Regions from separate parts of the Homo sapiens genome. Here regions 1, 2, 3 and 4 are each linked to region 5. The links are contacts of gene promoters, found by promoter capture Hi-C in blood cells and fetal thymus (Javierre and others, 2016). All regions are on one chromosome and are shown on one strand. Each heading gives the region's core, a stretch centred on a gene start or on the middle of the fragment in contact. The rest is flanking DNA. Distances are from core to core; before and after follow the strand shown. Region 1 holds the start of ZNF665 (zinc finger protein 665). Region 2 overlaps ZNF347 (zinc finger protein 347). Region 3 overlaps LOC124904792 (zinc finger protein 480-like). Region 4 overlaps ZNF665 (zinc finger protein 665). Region 5 holds the start of ZNF350 (zinc finger protein 350).

Region 1 (5,229 bases), core at 1,117-3,616, 1.2 Mb after region 5:
TTCTATGAGCTGCTCTGGCAAATTAATAGCACCTCAGGAAGGGATGAGGAGAATCCCAAATTTATACTCAATGGATCCGAAGCTCCGAATCTGGGACTTGGGGCTGGTATCTGAAGAGGGAACCCTCAACTAGTGGGATCTAATGCTAACTCTGGGTAGACAGTGTCCGAATTGAATTAAATTATTGGACAGTCAGGTAGTGTTTGTTCAAGAACTGCGTGTTGGTGAGGAGAAATCCCCACCCCACACGTTTTGGTGATGAGAGGCGATGCATTCTTTGTTGAGCGTTCATTACTTGATTATGAGAGTGGGAAAAACACTTTGGTTTTTCCTCCTCACTCATACACTTGCCTACACATTACCCCATCCTAGGAAAAGGAAAGAGGGTGACCCATAACTGAATGAGTCAAGTCACTGCTCTCTTAGAACAGAGATTGCAAATAGAAGCTAACCTCTGATGCCAGGAATTATAAAATGCACATGTCTTATAGACAAAACTTTTGTGATTCTCACCAGCATCTCCATAACAGAAACAAAATATATACATATAAAATTTGTTAGATTATTAGGGGCTGGGCACAGTGGCTCATGCCTGTAATCCCAGCATTTTGGGACGCTGAGGTGGGTAGATCACCTGAGGTCAGGAGTTCGAGACCAGCCTGGTCAACATAGTGAAACCCCGTCTCTACTAAAAATACAAAAGTTAGCCAGGTGTGGTGGTGCATGCCTGTAATCCCAGCTACTCGGGAGGCTGAGGCAAGAGAATCGCTTGAACCCAGGAGGCGGAGTTACAGTGAGTCGAGATCGTGCCATTGCACGCCAGTCTGGGAAATAGAGTGAGATTCTGTCTTAAGAAAAAAAAAATTTGTTAGATTATGGATACAGAAATCAATATATCACGATGTAATTATCCATATCCAATGAAACCACCATGCATCTGGGCCATAGTCCCCCTCTTTCTTCCTTCCTGTGTGTTTCCCTCCCTCATTCTGTACATCTCTCTCATTCTCTTCTTCTCTCTCCTTGTTTCTTTTCTGTGTTTCAGCCTGGGTCTCTGCTCCTCATTTTGAGCCCCTCTCTTCTCCTGCTGTTTCTCCTTCCCTCTATCCTTCTCTTCCACTTGTTCTGTTCCATTCTTGCAACTTGTTTCACCTCTTATTCCTCTTTCACCCGTCTTTTGGTTGTCCCCAATCTCCATCTATTTCTGCCTCTTTCTTCCCTTATCTCTGCTCTCCCTGTTAAATCCCCTCTTCCCTGTTTCACTTCCTTGTCCCCACTCTTTGGCACCCCCAGATCCCAGGTCTCCCCCTGCTGTGGTTCTCCCTCTGCTCTCCTTGTCACCAGCTGCCCCTTCTTGCTGTCCCAGCACCACGCTGCTCTGTCTATCCTGGCTCCAAATACCCCCTCCTCTCCCTAACTCTCCGTCTGAGGAGCTGCCCCTCTCCCTACCTTGCTGTCCTTCATCTCTCTAGACAGCGAGCTTTTCTCTACATTTCTCCAGTTGTTTCTCCATCCTGTTACTTTCTCAGCGACTTCTTTCACCCTTACTGTCTCTTTGTAAATCCTGACCCATCCTCTACTTTGCCATGTTTACTGGTTTCCCTCATTCTTTCCTCTGTCTCCGTTTTTCTACTTTTCTCTCAGCCCCCCTCTCTGTCTCCTGATCCCCTTGGCCCACACATTCACAGGGAGGGTTTGGAGTAAGACACCTGGATCCTGGAGGAGCACATTTTCCAGCGGGTGGAGCTGGGCAGGCAAGAACACCGGGTATCACAGGACAAGGCCCGGGCACCTCCCCAACGCGGGCTCAGGGGAAACGGTGACTGCGAAGGGGAGGCCTAGGGAGCAGCAGGGCCCGGCACGAGGAGGAGGGAGGTGGGGGGCGACGGCGCCTTAGGAGAGGGGTGGGGTATGCAGGATCCCAGGACCAGGCAGAGGCGCGGCCTCCCCGGGACTGGGGCTGCGGCGCTAACGCTCCAGTAGCTGACTAGGGCGAGGTTAGGGGACGGTAAAATCCTGCACCCACTTCGCAGATGAGGACTTCACAGGGCGCAGGTCAGTAAAGGGTTTTAAGCAGGAAACGGCGCAGGAAAGGAGGTGTCTGCATGGTCTGAAGGCCGAAAGACCGCGGGCAGGACCAGCCTGTGTGATTTTAACCCAAAGCGATGCGACCCCCAGAGTCTCGCGGCAAAGTCTGAATTTACATGGAATGGAGGGAGCCGTGCGGGGACTTTAAGGGCTATACGAACCCCCGGACATCGGGTACGGAGGAGCAGGGGACTCCGAAACGCAGGTTTAATCTAGATAGAGGGAAACTCACGCGGCGACTAACAGCCTTCACTCCAAGAGATCTGCTTCCGGGTTTGCAAGAAACTGCCCGCGCAGTAGGCAAAGGGGCGGGTTGCGGTGGGGAAAGGCCAGGCGTTGGGAGGGACTGAGAGCATAGGGTGGGCGGGGCCGGGGCGGGGCCTGAACCCTGGAGGCGGAGGTTGCAATGAGCCGATATCGCGCCATTGCACTCCAGCCTGGGTGACAGAGTGAGACTTCGTCTCTCCCAAAAAAAAAAAAAAACAAAACTTAGGCTATCTAAAAGTTTAACCAATGGCCAGTAATATAAGCAATCATGCATATGTAATGAAGGCGCCATAACAACCCAAAAGGAGAGGATTCAGCGGAGCTTCTGGATAGGTGAACACTGGGAGGCTCCTGCAGCGTGGTGCACCCAGGGAGGGCACCAAGGCTCAACGCCCCTTCTCCCATGCCTCACCTCACTGATCCCTTCCATCTGGCTGTTCTTCTGTCAACTTTGTAATATCCTTTATAATACGTAAATCTATGTAAAGTGTTTCCCTGTATTTTGTGAGCCACTCTAGCAAATTCGTTGAACCTGAGGAGGGGGTCAAGGGACTCCTGGATTTATATCTGATCTGTAAGCACAAGTCACAACCTCTGCTTGAGACTGGCATTGAAATGTGTGCACTATTGTGGGACTGAGCCCTCAACGTGTGGGATCTGATGCCATGTCCCGGCAAAATGGAACGGAATGAGAGAACACGCACCTGGTGTCTGTGGCAGGATTGCTTGCTTGGTGTGTGTGGGAAAACCCAGTACCTCTGGGCTAACTGTAGCATTCTGTGTTGTGAGAGAACAGTAGAAGAAACTGAATCAGTGTTTCCTATATTCTTAAATACGAATATGTGAGGTTTGTTGTTGTTTTTTTTTTTTTTTTTTTTTTTTTAGACAAGAGTCTTGCTCTTGTCGCCCAGGCTGGAATGCAATGGCATGATCTCGGCTCACTGAGCCACCGCCCCAGCGTGAAGGCATTTTTGAGCAAGTTATGTCTCCCTAATTCTGTTTTATTGTACTTTTCCCTAAGTAGTTATAATAGCCTCTAAATCTGTGTGGAGTTTTCAGTTTTGTGGACAATACAATAAATAGACAAATAAAAACCCAAACACAAGCTGATCTCTATAGAAGTGTTAGATATTATTTTCAACACACTAAGTGATACTCCGTATCTAGATAAGCTAAAGCACGAATGATGTCTTCTGAGGTGACAAGGTCCACAGTGGCTTTACAGAAACACTGGCCAGAAGTAAAAACTGTGATGATAATGGCAATAGCAATGACTGACTTTTCTGAACACTATGTGCAAGGCATTATTCGGAATACTTTACCTGTATTAACTCAAATAACAACATAATAGCCCATGAGAAAAAGATCTTTTCCTATCTTACTAGGAAACAACTGTGTCGGCCGGGCGCTGTGGCTCACGCCTGTAATCCCAGCACTTTGGGAGGCCGAGCTGGGCGGATCACGAGGTCAGGACCGGATCACGAGCCGGGCGGATCACGATGGTCACCAGGAGACCATCCTGGCTAACACGGTGAAACCCCGTCTCTAATGATAATACAAAAAAATTAGCCGGGCGTGGTGGCGGGCGCCTGTAGTCCCAGCTACTCTACTCGGGAGGCTGAGGCAGGAGAATGGCGTGAACCCGGGAGGCGGAGCTTGCAGTGAGCCGAGATGGCGCCCCTGCACTCCAGCCTGGGCGAGAGCAAGACTCCGTCTCAAAAAAAAGAAAAAGAAAGAAACTGTCACAGATACGCTAAGAAACTGGCCTAAGGTCCAAGAGCTAGAAATGACAGAGCAAGCCCCGAACCCAGGCATCTAAGAATTACAGTTAGGCTGAGAGCAGTGGCTCACACCTGTAATCCCAGCACTTTGAGAGCCTGAGGCAGGAGGGGTGCTTGAGCCCAGGAGTTCAAGACCAGCCTGGGCAATATAGTGAAACCCCATCTCAACAAAATAAAGACAAAACAAAAACAAAAAACCCCTCAACAATTACAATTAAACCTAAAGAATCAGTTAAGTAACAGAAGTACCATCAAAAGTGACAGGATGCCAGGTCAGGGAAACCATTGAGAACAAAGGCAAGCAACATAAACGAGAGTCTGCAGTAACGCAGGCAGACACTAGGTGGAGAACCAGACCACAGCTTACCATGAAAACACAGGGACTGCAGAATTGCAGACTGTCAACAGGAGCTCTCCTGAAGAAAAACTGGCAAACCTTCTCAGGTAACTACAAGCAAAAGCCCAGAGACGACACATTCCCAGAAAAGGCTTCAGAGGTTTCCAGAATCTCTAGTCAGGCTGAATAGAGAAGGTCCTCCCTGAAGGAAGCCAGAAATAAAAAAGTAGGACTGGTTGATTAGTGAAATGCTGAGGTGCCAAGATAACAAGACATTCAAGGAGAAAAGGAAACATGATCCACACAAAGGAACAAATGAAACCACCACAAACTGACACTAAAGAAATGAAGATGTGTGAATTATCAGACAAAGAATTGAAAATAAGAGTCACAAGATGGTCAATGAATTAAGAGGAGAGCACACATAGACAACCACAGGAAATCAGGAAAACAAGATATGAGCAAAATGAGACTATCAATAGAGAGACAGAAGCTATAAAGGAAAAACAGAGAAATTTTAGAGCTGAAAAATGTAATCAGAAACGCAGAACACAGAGCCTTGGTGCTCAATGCTGCACACAGATTACAACGCCCTGGGCCACCGTAGTTATTATTGAGGGTAGATCCCAACCTGACCATGGGAATAGGAATCTTGGGCAAAAGAAAGTTGAAATGGTTAAACTTATACGTTAATACGTTAAAATACGTTAAAAGGTATTTTTGCCAGCGAATGGGACAGAAGTTGAAATGGTTCAC
Region 2 (4,936 bases), core at 2,168-4,667, 1.2 Mb after region 5:
ATATTACACCGAAAAACAATATTAAACCAAAAGCAATTCTTATATTAAACAGATTTATGAAACTTCAGAACAATAATATTCAATTTTTAGGAACACAAAGGAAAGAGGATTGTTTAATAAAGTTGATTCCATGTAATTCAAATTAATAGTATGGAAGCCTAGTTCCCAACCTACAATACTGTAGCCAGCAAAGCAATCGTTCAGTCATAAAGGAGAGAAAGTCTTCCCCAGACAAACAAAGCTAAGGGAATTTACCATGATCAGACCTGTTTTACAAGAAATGATAAAGGGAGTTCTTCAAATCCAAAGAAAATGACACGATGTAACTGTTACACTAATATTAATATCATAATCATGGTGTGCAAACCATTTGTATATTTACTAAGAGGGCTAAAAGATAAAACTATTAAAAATAAGCACAACAGTTTGTTAAGTGATAGGCAGTACACAACATAAATTGCGACATAAAAAATTCAAAATGCAGGGTGAGAAGGGAACGAACATGCACAGAGGTTTTAGTTTCTTTTTTTGCAATCAAAGTTAGTTGATATTGATTTGAGATAAATTGTTAAAAGCTATAGGATGTTTTTATATTTATTTATTTATTTTTTATTATACTTTAAGTTTTAGGGTACATGTGCACAATGTGCAGGTTAGTTACATATGTATATATGTGCCATGTTGGTGTGCTGCACCCATTAACTCGTCATTTAACATTAGGTATATCTCCTAATGCTATCCCTCCCCCCTCCCCCCACCCCACAACAGTCCCCAGAGTGTGATGTTCCCCTTCCTGTGTCCATGTGTTCTCATTGTTCAATTCCCACCTGTGAGTGAGAACATGCGGTGTTTGGTTTTTTGTCCTTGCGATAGTTTGCTGAGAATGATGGTTTCCAGCTTCATCCATGTCCCTAAAAAGGACATGAACTCATCATTTTTTATGGCTGCATAGTATTCCATGGTGTATATGTGCCACGTTTTCTTAATCCAGTCTATCATTGTTGGACATTTGGGTTGGTTCCAAGTCTTTGCCATTGTGAATAGTGCCACAATAAACATACGTGTGCATGTGTCTTTATAGCAGCATGATTTATAATCCTTTGGGTATATACCCAGTAATGGGATTGCTGGGTCAAGTGGTATTTCTAGTTCTAGATCCCTGAGGAATCGCCACACTGACTTCCACAATGGTTGAACTAGTTTACAGTCCCACCAACAGTGTAAAAGTGTTCCTATTTCTCCACATCCTCTCCAGCACCTGTTGTTTCCTGACTTTTTAATGATCGCCATTCTAACTGGTGTGAGACGTAAGCCTTATTTTATGGTCACCACAAAGTAAAAGCCTGTAATAGACATATTAATAATAAAAAGCAATGAATTAAAACATACTGCCGTTTTGTTACTTCTTTTCTAATTGTTTTCTAACTTCTCTCTTGCTTTCTTTCTTACTGTCTTCCTTTGTGTTTAAGTGATTTCTCTGGTAGTATAAGTCCTTACCTATCAATAATAACATTAAATAGAAATGGACTAAATTTTCCAATTACAAGAGAGAGGCCTGCTGAATGGATTATAAAACATACAGCTAACTATATGTTGCCTACAACAAACTCACTTCACCTATAAGGATACATGTAGACAAAAAGTGAGGGGATGGAAAAAGATATTTCATGGAACTAGAAATCAAAAAAGAGCAGTAGTAGGTATACTTAGATAAAATAGACTTTAAGTCAATAAGTGTAAAAAGAGACAAAGTCAGTATATAATGAGAAAAGGATCAACTTAGCAAAAGGACATAATAAATAAGTACACACCCAAATATGTAAAGCTAATGTTAATAAATCTAAAGGGAGAGACAGGTAGCAATACAATAATATTAGGGGACTTCAAAACACAATTTTTGGTAATGAATAGGTCATCCAGGCAGAAAACCAATAAAAAAAAAATTAGAGTTAAAATATACTGCAGACTAAATGGACCTAAAAAAAGACTTTTTAAATTTTTTTTCTATTTTAAACAGATGGGATCTCCCTATGTTGCCCAGGCTGTGGTCCATTGCCTAGTCACAGGTGAGTTCACAGTGCACTGCAGCCTTGAACTTCTGGCCTTAAGCATTCCTCTCTCCTCAGCCTCCCAAGTAGCTAAAATTACAGGTATGTTCCATGCCCTAACAGACGTTTACAGACCATTTTATCCAGCTGTTGCAAAATACATATTCTTCTCATCAGCACATGGATTATGCTTCAGGATAGATTATATGTTAAGACACCAAACAAGTCTCAATAAATTCAAAAAAGTCAAAATTGTATCTAGTATCTTTTCTGACCACAATAAAATAACACTAGAAACCAACAAGAAGAGCCTCAGAAGATACACAAACATGGCTGGGCGTGATGGCTCACACCTGTAATCCCAGCACTTAGGGAGGCCAAAGTTGGGCAGATCACCTGGCGTCAGGAGTTCAAGACCAGCCTGGCCAACATGGTGAAACCCTGTTTCTACTAAAAACACAAAAATTAGCCAGGCGTGGTGGCACACGCCTATAATCCTAGCTACTCGGGAGGCTGAGGCAGGAGAATTGCTTGATCCCAGGAGGTGGAGGATGCAGTGAGCCAAGATTGTGCCATGCACTCCAGCCTGGGTGACAGAGCAAGAGTCTGTCTAGAAAAAAAAAAAAAAAAGAAGATACAAAAACACATGGAAATTAGACAACATATTCCTGAACAGCCACTGAGTTAATGAAGAAATTAAGAAGGAAATAAAACATTTCTTTTTTTTTTTTTTTGAGATAGGGTCTTGCTCTGTCACCTACACTGGAGTGCAATGGTGTGATCTCAGCCCACTGCAACCTCCACTTCCTGGGCTCAAGTGATCCACCCACCTCAGCCCCCCAAGTAGCAGAGACCACAGGCACACACCACCATGCCCAGCTAATTTTTGTATATTTTACCAAGACAGAGTTTGGACATGTTGCTCAGGCAGGTCTCAAACTCCTGAGCTCAAGCAATCCGCCTGCCTCAGCCTCCTAAGGTGCTGGGATTCCAGGCATGAGCCACCATGCCTGGCTAAAAATTTCCTGAAACAAATTAAAATGCAAAACAGCACAATCTATAGGATACAGAAAAAGCAGCAAAAAGAGGAAAGTTTGTAGCAATAAACACCTATATCAAAAAAACAGTAAGTCAACAAATAAAACACCTAATGATACAACTCAAGGAACTAGAAAAGCAAGAACAAACCAAACCCAAAAGTAGTAGAGGGAAAGGAATAATAAAGATCACAGTAGAACTAACCAAAATAAAGACTAAAAAAAAATCTAAGATCAATAAAATGAAAAGTAGGATTAAAAAAAAATTTTTTTTTTTTTGAGATGGAGTTTTGCTCTTGTTGCCTGGGCTGGAATGCAGTGGCATGATACCAGCTCACCATAACCTCTGCCTCCCAAGTTCGAGAGATTCCCCTGCCTCAGCCTCCCGAGTAGCTGGGATTACAGGCATGTGCCCCCACGCCCGGCTAATTTTGTATTTTTAGTAGAGATGGGGTTTCTCCATGTTGGTCAGGCCGGTCTTGAATTCCCAACCTCAGGTGGTCCACCCACCTTAGTCTCCCAAAGTGCTGGGATTACAGGTGTGAGCCACCGTGCCCGGCCTAAAAAAATTTTTTTTTAGAGATGGGGTCTATCTCTCTCACACAGGCTGGAGTGCAGTGGCCCAGTCATAACTCACTGCAGCCTTGAACTCCTGGGTTTAACTGATCCTCCTCCCTCAGCCTCCCAAGTAGCTGGGACTACAGAAACGCACTACCATGCTTGGCTAATTTTCGTTTTATTTTTAGAGATGGGGTCTCTTTCTATGTTGCCCAGGCTGGTTTGAACTCCCCGCCTCAAGCAATTCTCCTTTCTCAGTCTCCCAAGTTCCTGGGATTACAGGCATGAGGCACCATGCCTAGCTTGAAAAGTAGGTTTTTCTAAAAGATAAGCAACATCAACAAACTTTTAGCTAAACTGAAATAAAAGGTGGGGGGAGGTACACCCAAATTAATAAAATCAGAGACAAAACAGAAAACATTAGAACTGATACCATAGATACACAAAGGACCATTAGGGACAATTATGAACAACTACATACAAATTTAAAAACCTAGAAGAAAGGGATACATTTCTGGACACATACAACCTATCAAGATTGAAACATGAAGAAATAGAAAACCTGAAGACACTAATAACAAAATTGAAGCTGAAAAAAAAAAAATTTCATGTAGAAGAAAAGCCCAGGATTGAATGGATTCACTGCTGAATTATACCAAACACTTGAAGAAGAACTAATACTGGCTAGGCATGTTAGCTCACGCCTGTAATCCCAACAGTTTGGGAGGCTAAGATGGGAGGACTGCTTGATGCCAGAAGTTTGAGAGCAGCCTGGGAAACACAGCAAGACCTCGGCTCTACTAAAAAATAAAAAAGGATTTGGCCAGGCACGGTGGCTCACGCCTGTAATCCCAGCACTTTGGGTGGTTGAGGCAGGTGGATCACCTGAGGTAAGGAGTTCAAGACCAGCCTGGCCAACATGGTGAAACCCCAACTCTACTAAAAATACAAAAATCAGCCAAGTGTGGTGGCACACGCCTGTAATCCCAGCTACTTGGGAGGCAGAGGCAGGAGAATCATTTGAACCTGGGAGGCAGAGGTTGCAGTGAGCCAAGATTACGCCACTGCATTCCAGCCTGGACAAGAGAACGAGACTGCATCTCAAAAACAAACAAACAAACAAACAAAAAAACACAATTAGTTGGGCGTGGTAGTGTGTGCCTGTAACCCCAGCTACTGGGGAGGATGTGGAGGGAGGGTCAGTTGAGCCCAAGAGTCTGAGTTTGCAGTAAGCTATGATTGTGCCACTGAACTCCAGTCTGGGTGAGATAGAGAGAGAGAGACTATCTCAAA
Region 3 (5,308 bases), core at 1,019-3,518, 1.2 Mb after region 5:
TGAGTATATGTGTGTCTTTGCATGTGAGATGGGTCTCCTGAATACAGCACACCGATGGGTCTTGACTCTTTATCCAATTTGCCAGTCTGTGTCTTTTAATTGGGGCATTTAGCCCATTTACATTTAAGGTTAATATTGTTACGTGTGAATTTGATCCTGTCATTATGATGCTAGCTGGTTATTTTGCTCATTAGTTGATGCAGTTTCTTCATAGTGTCGATGGTCTTTACAATATGGTATGTTTTTGCAGTGGCTGGTACCAGTTGTTCCTTTCCATGTTTAGTGCTTCCTTCCTTATAAGGCAGGCCTGGTGGTGACAAAATATCTCAGCATTAGCTTGTCTGTAAAGGATTTGATTTCTCCTTCACTTATGAAGCTTAGTTTGGCTGGATATGAAACTCTGGGCTGAAAATTCTTTTCTTTAAGAATGTTGAATATTGGCCCCCACCCTCTTCTGGCTTGTAGAGTTTCTGCCAAGAGATCTGCTGTTAGTCTTAGGGCTTCCCTTTGTGGGTAACCTGACCTTTCTCTCTGGCTGCCATTAACATTTTTTCCTTCATTTCAACCTTGGTGAATCTGACGATTATGTATCTTGGGGTTGCTCTCCTTGAGGAGTATCTTTGTGGTGTTGTCTGTATTTCCTGAATTTGAATGTTGGCCTGTCTTGCTAGGTTGGATAAGTTCTCCTATAATAATATCCTGAAGGGTATTTTCCAACTTGGTTCCATTCTCCCCATCACTTTCAGGTACACCAATCAAATGTAGATTTGGTCTTTTCACACAGTCCCATATATCTTGGAGGCTTTGTTCATTTCTTTTCACTCTTTCTTCTCTAATCTTGTCTTCTCACTTTATTTCATTAAGTTGATCTTCAATCTCTGATATCCTTTCTGCTGCTTGATCAATTCAGTTATTGATACTTATGTATGCCTCATGGAGTTCTCATGCTGCGTTTTTCAGCTCCATCAGGTCATTTATGTTCTTCTCTAAAGTGGTTATTCTAGTTAGCAATTCATTTAACCTTTTTTCAAGGTTCTTTTCTTCCTTGCATTGGGTTAGAACATGCTCCTTTAGCTCAGAGGAGTTTGTTATTACCCACCTTCTGAGGCCTACTTCTGTCAATTCGTCAAACTCATTCTCCTAGTTTTGTTCCCTTGCTGGTGAGGAGTTGTGATTCTTTGGAACAGAAGAGGCATTCTGGTTCTTTTTGTGCTGGTTTCTCCCCATCTTTGTGGATTTATCTACCTTTGGTCTTTGATATTGGTGACCTTCAGATGGGGTCTCTGAGTGGATGTCCTTTTAGTTGATGTTGATACTATTCCTGTTTGTTAGTTTTCCTTCTAACAGTCAGGCCCCTCTGCTCCACGTCTGCTGGAGTTTGCTGGGGGTCTACTCCAGACCCTGTTTGCCTGGGTATCACCAGCAGAGACTGCAGAACAGCAAAGATTGCTGCCTGTTCCTTCCTCTGGAAGCTTCATCCCAGAGGGGCACCCGCCAGGTGCCAGCCAGAGCTCTCCTGTACGAGGTGTCTGTCGGCCCCCTACTGGGAGGTATCTCTCAGTGAGGATACATGGGGGGCCAAAGACCCACTTGAGGAGGCAGTCTGTCCTTTATCAGAGCTCAAACGCCGTGCTGGGAGATCCGCTGCTGTCTTCAGAGCTATCAGGCAGGGACGGTTAAGTCTGCTGAAGCTGCTCCCACAGCCGCCTCTTCCCCCAGGTGCTCTGTCCCAGGGAGATGGGGGTTTTATCTATAAGTCCCTGATTGGGGCTGCTGCCTTTTTTTCAGAGATGCCCAGCCTAGAGAGGAGGAATCTAGAGAGGCAGTCTGGCCGCAGTGGCCTTGCTGAGCTGTGGTGGGCTCTGCCCAGTTCAGACTTTCCGGCAGCTTTGTTTACATTGTGAGGGTAAAACCGCCTACTCAAGCCTCAGCAATGGCGGATGCCCCTCCCCCCACCAAGCTCAAGTGTCCCAGGTCGACCTCAGACTGCTGTGCTGGCAGTGAGAATTTCAAGTCCATGGATCTTAGCTTGGTGGGCTCCGTGGGGGTGGGACCCCCCAAGCCAGACCACTTGGCTCCCTGGCTTCAGCCCCCTTTCCAGGGGAGTGAACAGTTCCGTCTTACGGGTGTTCCAGGTGCCACGGGGGTATGAAAAAAAAACTCCTGCAGCTAGCTCGGTGTCTGCCTAAACGTCCACCCAGTTTTGTGCTTGAAACCCAGGGCCCTGGTGGCGTAGGCACTGGAGGGAATCTCCTGGTCTGCCGGTTGTGAAGACTGTGGGAAAAGCACAGTATCTGGGCCAGAGTGCACCGTTCCTCATGGCACAGTCCCTCACAGCTTCCCTTGGCTAGGGAGGGAAATCCCCCAACCCCTTGCACTTCCCTGGTGAGGTGACGCCCCACCCTGCTTTCTCTTGCACTCTGTAGGCTGCACCCACTATCCAACCAATTCCAGTGAGATGAAGTGGGTACCTCAGTTGGAAATGCAGAAATCACCTGCCTTCTGTGTCGATCTCGCTGGGAGCCGCAGGCCAGAGCTGTTCCTATTTGGCCATCTTGCCAGCAAATCCCTAATTTTTGCATTTTTAATGGAGATGAGGTTTCACCATGTTGGCCACCTGGTCTGGAACTCCTAACCTCAGGTGATCTGCCTGTCTTGGCCTCCCAAAGTGCTGGGATTACAGGCGTGAGCCACTGCACCCGGCCGATATATTTTTCAATATGAACTACTGATTTGCCAACTGTAGTTAATAGAAAACCTGTTTTTTAAATATCTTGTAGATGTCTCTCCTACACATATGATCAAGGAATTACCACCAAAAGAGAACAATAGCACAGGAAAAGTATTCCAAGCAGTGATGTTGGAAAGACATGAAATCCATGACATCCAAGATTTTTACTTCAGAGAAATGCAGCAAAATATTCATGACTTTGAGTGTCAGTGTCACAATGATGAGAGAAATTACAGAGAAATACCTGCAATTAAAATTAAAAACATCACTGGAAGAAGAGATCAAGGTGATGGAAGGAATGCAGGAAATAAGCCAGTTGAAAATCAGCTTGAACTAAGCTTTTGGTTGCATCTGGCTGAACTGCAGGGATTTCAAATTGAAAGGAAAATTTATGAATGTAATCAAATTGAGAAGTCTGTCACCCGTGGGTCCTCAGTTTCATTACTTCAAACAAATCTTCCTTGTGTCAACACCAGCATTTCTAATATATACAGGAATGATTTTATGCATCCTTCATTACTCACACAAGACCAGAAAGCATACATTAGGGAAAAACCTTACAAATGTAGTGATTGTGGCAAGGCCTTTAATCAGAGGTCCAACCTTACTACACATCAGAGAATCCATACTGGACAGAAACCACATAAATGTGACATATGTGGCAAAGGTTTCAGGCGAATTGCAAACCTAGCAAGTCATCATAGAATTCATACTGGAGAGAAACCTTACAGATGTAATGAGTGTGGCAAGACCTTCAATCAGACGTTCAACCTTACTACACATCAGAGAATCCATACTGGACAGAAACCATATAAATGTGATAGATGTGGCAAAGGTTTCAGGCAAATTGGAAACCTAGCAAGTCATCATAGAATTCATACTGGAGAGAAACCTTACAGATGTAACGAGTGTGGCAAGACCTTTAACAGGATGTTCCACCTTACTAGACATCAGAGAATCCATACTGGACAGAAACCATATAAATGTGATATATGTGGCAAAGGTTTCAGGCAAATTGCAAACCTAGCAAGTCATCATAGAATTCATACTGGAGAGAAACCTTACAAATGTAGTGATTGTGGCAAGACCTTTAATTACAGGTCCCACCTTACAAGACATCAGAGAATCCATACTGGACAGAAACCGTATAAATGTGATACATGTGGCAAAGATTTCAGTCAAAATTCATACCTTGAAAATCATCAGAGAATTCACACTAGAGAGAAATCTTACAGATGTAATGAGTGTGGCAAGACCTTTAATAAGATGACCAACCTTACTACACATCAGAGAATCCATACTGGACAGAAAACATATAAATGTGATATATGTGGCAAAGGTTTCAGGCAAATTGGAAACCTAGCAAGTCATCATAGAATTCATACTGGAGAGAAACCTTACAGATGTAATGAGTGTGGCAAGACCTTCAATAGGATGTTCCACCTTACTAGACATCAGAGAATCCATACTGGACAGAAACCATATAAATGTGATATATGTGGCAAAAGTTTCAGTCAAAATTCATACCTTGAAAATCATCAGAGAATTCACACTGGAGAGAAAACTTACAAGTTGTAATTAGTGTGGCAAAGCCTTTAGCGTGCGCTCAAACCTAACTAAACATCAGGTCATCCATAATGGAGAGAGACCTTATAAATGTAATGAGTGGGACAAGGCTTTTTTTTCAGAGTTCAAAATTGTAAAACATCACAGGATTCATTCTGGAGAGAAACAAAACAAAAGTAATGAATGTAGTAAGGCATTTATTCAAAATTCAAGTCTGGTGGACCATCAGAGAACTCACACTGGAGAGAAACCTTACAAGTGTAATGAGTGTGGTAAAACCTTTATTGGGCATTCAAGCCTAACTAACCATCAGGTAATTCATACTGGAGAGAAACCTTACAAATGTAATGAGTGTGGAAAGGCTTATGTGAAGTGGTCCCACCTTAGACATCATGAGAGTATTCAAACTGGAGAGAAGCCATACAAATGTACCAAATGCAGCAAGGCCTTTAGACAATGGGCGGACATCAGGATTCACCAAAAAATCTATGCTGGAGAGAAACCTCACAAGTATGATGAGTGTGGAAAAACCTTTACCCAGGCCTCTCACCTCACTATACATCAGATTATCCATACTGGAGAGAAACCATATGAATATGACATATATGGCAAAGTCTTCAGTCAAAATTCACATTTCAAAAGTTATCATAGGATTTGTACTGAAGAGAAGCCTTACAAATGTGTGTGGCAAGGTCCTCAGTCAAAATTCACACCTTGTAAATCATCAGAGAATTCATACTGGAGAGAAATCCTACAGATGTCATGAATGTGGCAAAGCCTTTACTCAAGGCTCACGCTTCATTAATCATCAGATAGTTCATACTGGAGAGAACTTTCCAAATGTACTGAATGTAGCAAGGCTTTTAAGAATGGCCCTAAACTCAGGACTCACCAAATAGATCATACTTGTAAATGCAATGAATGTAGCAGTGTTTTAAAGTAGTGCTTGCTACTCATTAGATAAGAGTATCTAATATATCTTGGGGCAAAGGCACACAAATGCAATGTCTG
Region 4 (5,262 bases), core at 473-2,972, 1.2 Mb after region 5:
CAACATGATATACTCTAATGGCAAATAACTCACAGCAAACATATGTAATGAATAATTAAAGAACTAGTAATTTTGAATTGGAAAACAATAATAGCACTGAAAAAACGAGGAGGAATTCAATTTTAAAATGTCAGAAAAAACTATTTTTCTGAATACCTGTTATAAAACTACATACCCCTATATACCCACACAGAGCAAACATTTTGCAACATTAACAAGTGGTATATAACAGTTATATTTCTTTCTTTCTTTCTTTCTTTTTTTTGAGAAGGACTTTTGCTCTTGTTGCCCAGGCTGGAGTGAGTGGTGCAATCTCGGCTCACCGCAACCTCCGCCTCCCAGGTTCAAGCGATTCTCCTGCCTCAGCCTCCTGAGTAGCTGGGATTACAGGCATGCACCACCAGGCCAGACTAATTTTGTATTTTTAGTAGAGACAGGGTTTCTCCATGTTGGTCAGGCTGGTCTCGAACTCCCGACCTCAGGTGATCCCCCCGCCTCAGCCTCCCAAAGTGCTGGTATTACAGGAGTGAGCCACTGCGCCCAGCCCCAACAGTTGTATTTCTTACAAATGGTAAAAAACCATCCTCTATCAATAATAATCGAAATTAAGAAAATATTTTAGCAACTCAGGATATAAGCAGTAGGCAAGAATTAGTAACCGTGTTTACAGGAAGTTATAGTCTGTGGATTGTCAACAATTTCTCTCTCTTTTTTTTTGGAGACAGAGTCTCGCTTTGTCACCCAGGCAGTGGCGCGATCTCGGCTCACTGCAAGCTCCGCCTCCCGGGTTCCCGCCATTCTCCTGCCTCAGCCTCCCGAGTAGCTGGGACTACAGGCGCCCGCCACCGCGCCCGGCTAATTTTTTGTATTTTTAGTAGAGACGGGGTTTCACCGTGTTAGCCAGGATGGTCTCGATTTCCTGACCTCGTGATCCACCCACCTCAGCCTCCTAAAGTGCTGGGATTACAGGCGTAAGCCAGGGTGCTTGGCCAACAATTTCTCTTGAGAAAAGAGGAGTCTGCCGGGCGCCGGTGGCTCCCGCCTGTAATCCCAGCACTTTGGGAGGCCGAGGCGGGTGGATCACGAGGTCAGGAGATCGAGACCATCCTGGCTAACACGATGAAACCCCGTCTCTACTAAAGATACAAAAAATTCGCCATGCGTTGTGGCGGGCGCCTGCAGTCCCAGCTACTCGGGAGGCTGAGGCAGGAGAATGGCGTGAATCCAGGAGGTGGAGCTTGCAGTGAGCCGAGATTGTGCCATTGCACTCCAGCCTGGGCGACACAGCCTGACTCCCTCTCAAAAAAAAAAAAAAAAAAAAAAAAAAAGAAAGAAAGAAAGAAAAGAGGAGTTCTACTTCAGAACCAGCACAGGATATAAGAACTGGAATATAATTTTTTTTTATGAAATAAAACTGTCTTTATTTGCAGATAACATAATCATCCTTGAGAAAATTCAATATACTCTACAAAAATGCTGCTAGAACTAGTGAGTTTAGCAAGGTTGAAGAATACATTATCAATACCCCAAAGAATCAATTTTATTTCTATATACTAGCAATGAATAATCAGAAAGTTTTCTAAAATGCAGTTTGCAATAGCTTTAAAAACATTAAATACTTAGAGAAAAGTCCGACAGCAGATATGAAGAACCTATACACTAAAAACTATAAAATATTGCAGAGAGGAATTAAAGAAGACCTAAATAAATGAAAAGCTAAATATATCTTGTTCAGCATTTAGAAGACTCAATATTGTTAAAACAGCAACACTCCCCATTTAGCCTATTGATTCAACACAATCCCAACCAAAATTCCAGCATGTATTTTTTGAGAAATTAACAGGCTTTCTAAAATTCATAGGAAAATGGAAAGGATCTAGCATAATTAAAACAATTTTGATAAAGAAGAAAGTTGTAACACTATCACTACCTGCTTTCATTATAAAAGTGTAGTCATCAAGACAGTGTGATTATTGTTGATTAGACAAATATCAAATAGATCAATGGAATGAAATAGAGAATACTGAAATAGACTCACGTTATATAGACAACTGATTTTTGACAAAGAATAAATGGCAATTCCATGGAGAAAAGACAGTCTTTTTAAAAAATGGTGCTGAAACAATTAGATCTTCATATGCAAAAAAACCCTTTTGTTTATACCTCATTCCATATAGAAAAATATACTCAAATAGATCAGATGAAAACCTAATGTAAAATCTAAACCATAAAACTTTTAGAAAACCAACATGAGGAAAAATCTGTGGAGCCCTCGGATCAAGCAAAGATTTCCTAGATATGATACCACAATCATGATCCATAAAAGAAAAAAAAGAATTAATTTATAAAGACACACTGTTAAAAGAATGAAGACTCGGACTGAGGGAAAATATTCACAAAGCACAAATCTGATAAAGACTTTGTATCTGGAATATACAAAGAACTCTCAAAGTTCAATATTAAGAAAACAAAAAGCCCAATTTTAAACATTGGAAAATGATTTGAACATACACTGCACAAAAGAAAATATTAATATATATAGATAATAAGCACATTAAAAGATATTCAACATCATAGTCATTAGGAAAATACAAATTAAACTACTAAATGTTGATTAGAAAGGCTGGAATTTAAAACTAGCAATACCAAGTGTTAACAAGGATGTGAAAAAACTAAAATTCTCACACACTGGTAGTGGGAATGTAAAAGGCTACAACCACTTTGGAAAATAGGTTGGATGGCTTTAAAAAAAATTTTTTTAATGGAAATATTTCTTTTTTTATTATTATTACTATACTTTAAGTTTTAGGGTACATGTGCATAATGTGCAGGTTAGTTACATATGTATACATGTGCCATGCTGGTGTGCTGCACCCATTAACTTGTCATTTAGCATTAGGTGTATCTCCTAAAGCCTATCCCTCCCCCTTCCCCCCACCCCACAACAGTCCCCAGAGTGTGATGTTCCCCTTCCTGTGTCCATGTGTTCTTATTGTTCAATTCCCACCTATGAGTGAGAATATGCGGTGTTTGGTTTTTTGTTCTTGCAATAGTTTACTGAGAATGATGATTTCCAATTTCATCCATGTCCCTACAAAGGACATGAACTCATCATTTTTTATGGCTGCATAGTATTCCATGGTGTATATGTGCCACATTTTCTTAATCCAGTCTATCATTGTTGGACATTTGGGTTGGTTCCAAGTCTTTGCTATTGTGAATAGTGCCGCAATAAACATACGTGTGCGTGTGTCTTTATAGCAGCATGATTTATAGTCCTTTGGGTATAAACCCAGTAATGGGATGGCTGGGTCAAATGGTATTTCTAGTTCTAGATCCCTGAGGAATCGCCACACTGACTTCCACAATGGTTGAACTAGTTTACAGTCCCACCAACAGTGTAAAAGTGTTCCTATTTCTCCACATCCTCTCCAGCACCTGTTGTTTCCTGACTTTTTAATGATTGCCATTCTAACTGGTGTGAGGAATGGAATATAACTTTTTTAAAAAAAACTTTTATTGTATAATGGCAAACTACAGGTGTATATATTTATGGGGAAAAAATGATGTCATGATGCATATATAGAATGTGGAATGATGGAATCACGCTTATTACCACATCCATCATGTGAAAAATGTGTCATTTACTCTTGTTTAATTGAACCTTTGTGTTGAAACGACAAACATCTTCCTAATCTCCCCAACCCCACCCTCTTGTAACCAACGTTCTTCTTTCTATGAGTTCAAGAGGTTTGGATTCCACATATAGGTAAGAAGGTGCAGTACTTGTATTTCTGTGCCTAGATTATTTCATTTAGCAAAATATCCTCGGGGTCCATCCATGTTCTGGCAGACAGAACTTCCTTCTTTTAAAGGCTACACAGTGTTCCATCATTTTCTTTATCCATTCATCTGTTAATGAACACGTAGTTTGATTTCATAACTCGACTATTGTGAACAATGCTGCATTAAACATGGAATGCAGATACGTCATAGATATGCTGATTTAAATCCTTTGGATCTATACTTGACCCTTGGACAATGTAGGGGTTAAGAATGCCAACCCTCCACTCAGTTGAAAATCTGTGTATAACTTTTGACTCCCCAAAAACTTAACCACTAATAGCCTACGATTGACTGGAAGCTTTACTAATAAACATATAATGTCGATTAGAATGTATCTTGTATTTTTTATGTTATATGTATTATATACTGTATTCCTTTTTTGTTTGTTTGTTTGTTTGTTTTCGAGACGGAGTCTTGCTCTGTCACCAGGCTGGAGTGCAGTGGCACAATCTCACCTCACTGCAACCTCCACCTCCCGGGTTGAAGCAATTTTCCTGCCTCAGCCTCCCAAGTAGCTGGGATTACAGGTGCCCACCATTAGGCCCAGCTAATTTTTTATATTTTTAGTAGAGACGGGGTTTCACCATGTTGGCCAGGCTGGTCTCGAACTCCTGGCCTCACATGATCTGCCTACCTTGGCCTCCCAAAATGCTGGGATTACAGGCTTGAGCCACCGCATGCGGCAAGAGATCACTTTTTATTATGATATGCAATTTACTGGAGAGATGAACTACTTAAAGATGATTAGCGTTACAGAGTGTATTAAGCAAATACTTGCAACACTTGAGCTCCATGTAATAGCAATAGGAGGTGGCTATGAAATTGTATGGCAGTACACTATGTACTAAAATTAGTTCTATACAATTATGATTATTATATCTTTACATTTGTGTGTGTGTGTGTGTATATATATATATATATATATTTTTTTTTTTTTTTTCTTTTTTTAGACGGAGTCTCACTGTGTCACCCAGGCTGGAGTGCAGTGGCGTGATTTTGGCTCACTGCAACCTCCGCCTCCCAGGTTCAAACAATTCTCTGCCTCAGCCTCCCGAGTAGCTGGGATTACAGGTGCCTGCCACCACGCCCAGCTGATTTTTGTACTGTATGTCACATGCAGTAAGTGTGTGTATAAGTTTTAATTTTTTATGATAGATTTGTGTTTTTATTTTGAAAGAGAGTCTCATTCTGATGCCCAAGCTAGAGGGCAGTGGTGTGATCTCGGCTCACTGCAACTTCTGTTTCCCTGGTTCAAGTGATTCTCCAGCCTCTGCCTCCCACCTAGCTGGGATTACAGGCATGTGCCACCACACCCAGCTACTTTTTGTATGTTTAGTAGAAACAGGGTTTCACCATGTTGGCCAGCTGGTCTCGAACTCCTGACCTCAGGTGATCCACACACCTTGGCCTCCCAAA
Region 5 (5,581 bases), core at 1,107-3,606:
ATACACACTCTATGAAGCAGCAATTTTCCTCCGAGGTGCACATCTAGATATACATCTCTGCCTCCCCCATATGAGAGCACATATGAACCAAAAGACATTTACACAAATTTTCACACATGCATTATTCTTAATAATACAAGCTTTAGGTAATACAAATGTAATTAATAATAGAAAAAACTGCTATATTTTACATAATGGAATGTGATAGAAAACCTATTATACCTTTGGTCCAGCCTGCAAGAATGCTTTTTACATTTTTGAAAGACTGTAAAACAAAAAGCAAATTAGCATATGCAAGAGACCATATGTAGCCTGCAAGCCCTAAAATATTTACTGTAAATTCGCCTGATCCTTGTCATTGAGCAAAGAAAATATACTCAGATGCAACAGGAAAGACCCTCACCAATAATGAGCAAAAGAAGGCTGACACAAAAAAAGAGTGATGTACAATTCCACTGATATACAGAGTTTAAAATAGGCAAAACTGTATTAACTACAATGATAAATAATGATTAATTATATAAAGAAAAGCCTAAAATACTTTTCGGTGTGAGAATGGAAAAAGACTCACAGAACACCACTGGTGTGCTGACCATATTCTATTTCTTGACCTGGGCAATGACTGCTTATACATATATTGCCTCCATGATAATTAAATTGTACATTTAAAATATATAAATGTAGAAAAATTAACAAAGTAAAGGAAGAGATCAACCATACCAAACAGTTTACCTCCAGGAAAGGTGTTAACTCCAGACAACACAACGGGTGAATTTTACAGGTGGGTAATAAAACAAGAACGTCCACTAACACCCTATTTTCCTACTTTATACTGGAAAGTTGAGCCAATGCATTAAGATAAGAATGAATTATAAGCATTACAAAGTAAGACAGAAAATTAATGTTATTTTCAGGCGATATCATCACGAACATGGAAAAAGAGATTCAAGAAATTACATATTTAAAAAAGAAAATGCTCCCTCAGAAACTCCCAGGCAGATTTTCACATACATAGTTGGCTAGAATTGCACCATACGCCTAAGCTCATTTCCATGTCAAACCTATCACTAGCAATGGCAATTGGAACCAGCAAGATTGGCTAAGACCAACAAGGCCTTACTAAGAAACTGGGATTTGGGTCGCCTTGCCACAGGGATGAATACTTCACGAAATGGAGATTCTGTTAAGAAAGTGTGAATATAAGGCGGGCAAGCAACACTCACTATATATTAAGAAGTGAAGGCCGGGCGCGGTGGCTCACGCCTGTAATCCCAGCACTTTGGAAAGCCAAGGTGGGCGGATCACCTGAGGTCAGGAGTTCGAGACCAACCTGCCCAACGTGGTAAAACCCTGTCTCTACTAAAAATACAAAAACTAGCCGGGCGTGGTGGCGTGGGCCTGTAGTCCCAGCTACTCAGGAGGCTGAGGCAGGAGAATCGCTTGAACCCGGGAGGCGGAGATTGCAGTGAGCCGAGATCGCGCCATTGCACTCCAGTCTGGGAGACAAAAGTGAAACTCCGTCTCAAAAAATAAAAAAAATAAATAAAAAATAAAAGAAGTGAATGCAGAGGTTGGCAACATTTTCGATTTTGCCGGCCACGAGGTCTCTGTCACAACAACTCAACCGCTGCCTTTGCAGCCATAGACAATATATAATCGGAGGGTATGACTGAACTTGACCCCCCGATCTGTAAATAGCCACCCCAAGGATCAGAAGAGTAGATATATGGTTTCGAACTAATGCTGGGGGCTGTGTCGCCTTTTGCCCCAGTAACCGAGGTTCGAACCTCAACCCAGGACCCAGGGCTCCAAAGTCTCGAAAGCTTCAGCCCTCACAAGCCTTTGTACCACAGACACTGGCCCCATGCCTCTTACTCATCCGAACCACGGACCAGACACTCTACAGCGATGGACATCCTCCCAGACTCCAACATCACTGAGTTCCAAATTAAATCCTGAACCCGAAGCAGACGCCGCATCGATCCTAATCGCCACCTCCATCCTTTACAAGCAGAGTGATCCATACCTTGACAGTTAGGACACGGCCGTTGATCACTACAGACCCTTAGTCACTGTACTCACACCAAAGGCACGCGGACCACAGACAGGGGGATCACAGACTCCCACCAGGTACCTCCCAAATGCCTATACCCCGGCGCTCCCCAGTCTTCCTGCCAAAAACTATGTGGTCCAGGGTACACCACGTCCTCAGATCTCCCAAACCTTCCACTGAGACAAAACCTGAACTAGGACAAAAAACTTTCAGGGACAAAACCACACACTGACCTCTATTTTCTCCAGATACACAAGAAGGGCCTCAACGTTACACTTCCGTAAACTGCTCCTACTTCTGGAGTCCTCGCACGGGTTTATGGTCCACCTACGGCGGCCGAGGAGAACCTAAAATGTTTAAAAGAGCAAGGACAAGCGCATTTACGGCATTTCCTACTCTGTAAAATGGCCGCGCCCATAGCCGTGGCTCCTGACGGCAGCCATGTTTGAAAATTGGACGCACAGAAGGCAGTGGCAGGTTTTTGAGCCAGGAGCCAGGGAAGAAGAGAAGTCACTGAAATCGCCTCGTTTCCTGGCACTTAAAGTCTTGCGAAAGGGGGCAGATTTTCAGAGACTCAGGCTTTATCAGGCAAATATGGGGCAAGCTAAATTGCCTTTAGCGCTTTTCCATCCACTTTGTTAAATTTAAAAAAAAAGGTTTTGAAAAAGACAAGTAACAGTGCAGCCAGGTGTAGGTATCCCAGAGAATGAATTGGAAATGGAAAAGGTAACAGATCAGGTAGAAAGGGAAAAGGCAACACATCAGGTAGGCAGACACCCACGGGAAAGCGTCTGGCGAAAATTAGCTTGCAGGAAGCGGTTTTTAAGAACAGAAAAATAGCAGGTATTCGGGGGGGCGGGTGGTGAAGAAAGAAAAAAATTATAATTTTTTTTGAGACGGAGTCTTGCTCTGTCGCCAGGCTGGAGTGCAGTGGCGAGATCTGGGCTCACTGCAACCTCTGCCTCCCTGGTTCAAGCGATTCTCCTGCCTTAGCCTCCCAAGTAGCTGGGACTACAGGCACGCGCCACCACGCCCAGCTAATTTTTGTATTTTTAGTAGAGACTGGCTTTCACCATGTTGGCCAAGATGATCTCGACCTCCTGACCTCGTGATCTGCCTGTCTCGGCCTCCCAAAGTGCTGGGATTACAGGTGTGAGCCACCGCGCCTGGCCTCGAAAAAATGATTATTATTTACAAAAAAGAAGAAGAAGAAGGAGGAAGAGGAGGAGGAGAAGGAAGAGAAAAGAGGAGAAAAGAAGAGAAAAGAGGAGAGGAGAGGAGAGAAAAGAGATTTTGAGAATGAATTACGATGTGAGCCTGGCCACGACAGACTAAAGGAATTGGGCCTCCTAGAAAGGCCACTTTTAGTAAAGGTGCCAATGGGAAGAGCAGAGCCAGAATTGAGAGTATAAAAATATTGTTAAGAGTTTTTGACAAAAGTGCCAAGACAATTCAATAAGAATAGTCTTTTCAACAAGCGGCACTGGGATAATTGGATATCCACATCCAGAAAAATGAGTTAGGACCCTCAAACCATACACAAAAGTTAACTCAAAATAGATCATAGATCTAAGTTTAAGAGAAAGTATAAAACTTAGAGAAGGAAAAGGGAGATAATCCTCATGGACGTGAGTTAATTCTGAGAGGAGAGTAAAGGATGACCCACAAAACAAAATAAAATTAATAAAGTGGACTTGATTTTTTTTTAAGTTTGTGCTTCTAAACACAACATTTAAGAAAGTGAAGTGGGGCACGGTGGCTCACACCTGTAATCCCAGCACTTTGGGAGGCCGAGGCAGGCGGATCATCTGAGGTCAGGAGTTCCAGACCAGCCTGGCCAACAAAGCGAAACCAGTCTCTACTAAAAATACAAAAATTACCCGGACGCGGTGGCGCGCGCCTGTAATCCCAGCTACTCGGGAGCCTGAGGCAGGAGAATCGCTTGAATCCGGGAGGCGGAGGTTGCAGTAAGCCGAGATCGCGCCACTGCACCCCAGCCTGGGCGACAGAGCAAGACTCCTCGGTAAAGACACCACTTCGTCACCCTGAATTACTCTGATTTTTATGGGTACAATGAGAATAGTGGACCTAGGAAGAAAAAGTTTTTAAATAGAAACCTTCAGGACAGATTTGGACTTGAAAGACTGACAGGAAGTGTTTCCAGCATCCAGTTAGTCTCAAAGCAACCACTAACCTTCAACTGCACACCTGAAAGCCTCCAGCCTCATTACATTCTCAAACACAGACAAGCCCCGTCTTCCTCTAAATAAAATTGCCTTCAAATTCAATTTAAAACTTACCACAGAGGCACTCCTTTGACACTCCTCCCCCTAGACCTTTCATTCACGCCACTCCTCTTCCTAGCTCGGGCTTCTCTGTATCTGAGCCCCATATTAAATTGCAAATCTGAGCAAAAAACAGCATTCACTGAGACACACTTTCCCCAGTTTTCTATTACTGAGACTCATGAAAAGTGAACATATAGACCTCAAGCTCTGTCCGTGGGACCCTCAGTCATTAAACTCTTAAAACTAAGCCTTAACCTTTGACATCCCAAGGGTCTCTTTCTCACACCCATATTCCTCGGTGACTAAACTGAAATAAAACCCCTGAACACGGACATTCACATGCGTTTCCACTTCATGGTCGTCCCCACAAGCTCCCCATCCGGATTCACACGCAGCATCAGGCTTTCAAGGCTACAGTAGCAGCTGCCAAAGGCTGAACACGTATCAGAACCTACTTCCGATTCTGGAATTCTGGTGCTGCAACCCCATCCTTCGCCATCTCTAAGAACACCGAGAGACTGGGAGGCGGGCTTCCGGAGAGGGATATGGGACATTTCCCAAAGTCCAGGTTCTGGCTTTGAACATTTTATATGAGGTAACATAGCTGTTTTACCTCATAGAGCATATTATGTCATTTCTGATGGGAGTGACCGTAGATTATTAGTGGAGTGATAGACACGCACATCAACAGAATAGAGTCAAGAAATGGACACAAGAACAGGCAACTGATTTTTACAAATGTTCAAAATCAATTTAATGGAAAGAGGACAGTGTTTTCAATACTGTTGAATCAACTGGGCAACCATAGGCTGAACTTTAAATTAACCCTTACCCTATATACAAAGATGAATTTAAATGGATATTGCTAAATATTAAAAAGCAAAACTGGCTGGGCGTGGTGTCTCACGCCTGCAATCCCAGCACTTTGGGAGGCTGAGGTGGCCAGATCACGAGGTCAGGAGATCAAGACCATCTTGGCCAACATGGTGAAACCCCGTCTCTACTAAAAATACAAAAATTAGCTGAGCATGCCGGTGCGTGCCTGTAATCCTAGCTACTTGGGAGGCTGAGGCAGGAGAATCACCTAAACCCAGGAGGCGGAGGTTGCAGTGAGCCAAGATCATGCCATTGAACTCCAGCCTGGGTGAGAGAGTGAGACTCTGTCTCAAAAAAAAAAAAAAAAAAAAAAAAAAAAAGAAGCAAAACTACATTATTTTGTCAAAGGAAGTGGAAAAAGAAT

What was found. Contacts are between HindIII fragments. The CHiCAGO score rates a contact against its expected background, and 5 or more counts as called.
Region 1: the fragment with the promoter of ZNF665 here is called in contact with the fragment with the promoter of ZNF350 in region 5 in 2 of 17 cell types (non-activated CD4 T cells and activated CD4 T cells); the score reaches 9.2 in non-activated CD4 T cells.
Region 2: a contact is called between a fragment that was not itself captured here and the fragment with the promoter of ZNF350 in region 5, in 2 of 17 cell types (naive CD8 T cells and non-activated CD4 T cells). The highest score is 6.0, in naive CD8 T cells.
Region 3: a fragment that was not itself captured here is called in contact with the fragment with the promoter of ZNF350 in region 5 in 4 of 17 cell types (non-activated CD4 T cells, total CD8 T cells, naive CD8 T cells and 1 more); the score reaches 8.1 in non-activated CD4 T cells.
Region 4: a fragment that was not itself captured here is called in contact with the fragment with the promoter of ZNF350 in region 5 in 1 of 17 cell types (non-activated CD4 T cells); the score reaches 5.3 in non-activated CD4 T cells.

What each region holds. Positions count from the first base shown.
Region 1 is chr19:53,190,992-53,196,220 of GRCh38, forward strand. It overlaps ZNF665 (zinc finger protein 665), which reads right to left and starts at 2,367. Exons shown (of 4, transcript NM_024733.5): 1 at 2,321-2,367. RefSeq lists an enhancer at 2,183-2,332. The HindIII fragment of the contact is 17,049 bases long and covers 1-5,229 here.
Region 2 is chr19:53,142,629-53,147,564 of GRCh38, forward strand. All of the region lies in intron 4 of ZNF347 (zinc finger protein 347), which reads right to left. Among named protein-coding and RNA genes, the nearest start is that of ZNF415, 12 kb to the left of the region's middle. The HindIII fragment of the contact is 7,508 bases long and covers 1-4,936 here.
Region 3 is chr19:53,208,201-53,213,508 of GRCh38, forward strand. It overlaps LOC124904792 (zinc finger protein 480-like), which reads left to right. Exons shown (of 5, transcript XM_047439805.1): 4 at 2,427-2,607; 5 at 2,747-2,750. The coding sequence ends at 2,750. It also overlaps the pseudogene LOC100419845 and the pseudogene ZNF818P. Among named protein-coding and RNA genes, the nearest start is that of ZNF665, 17 kb to the left of the region's middle. The HindIII fragment of the contact is 1,597 bases long and covers 1,471-3,067 here.
Region 4 is chr19:53,166,755-53,172,016 of GRCh38, forward strand. The region is part of intron 3 of ZNF665 (zinc finger protein 665); the gene reads right to left. Among named protein-coding and RNA genes, the nearest start is that of ZNF347, 10 kb to the left of the region's middle. The HindIII fragment of the contact is 4,840 bases long and covers 1-4,142 here.
Region 5 is chr19:51,984,484-51,990,064 of GRCh38, forward strand. It overlaps ZNF350 (zinc finger protein 350), which reads right to left and starts at 2,357. Exons shown (of 5, transcript NM_021632.4): 1 at 2,287-2,357. RefSeq lists enhancers at 1,822-2,697, 2,284-2,523. The HindIII fragment of the contact is 6,623 bases long and covers 1,822-5,581 here.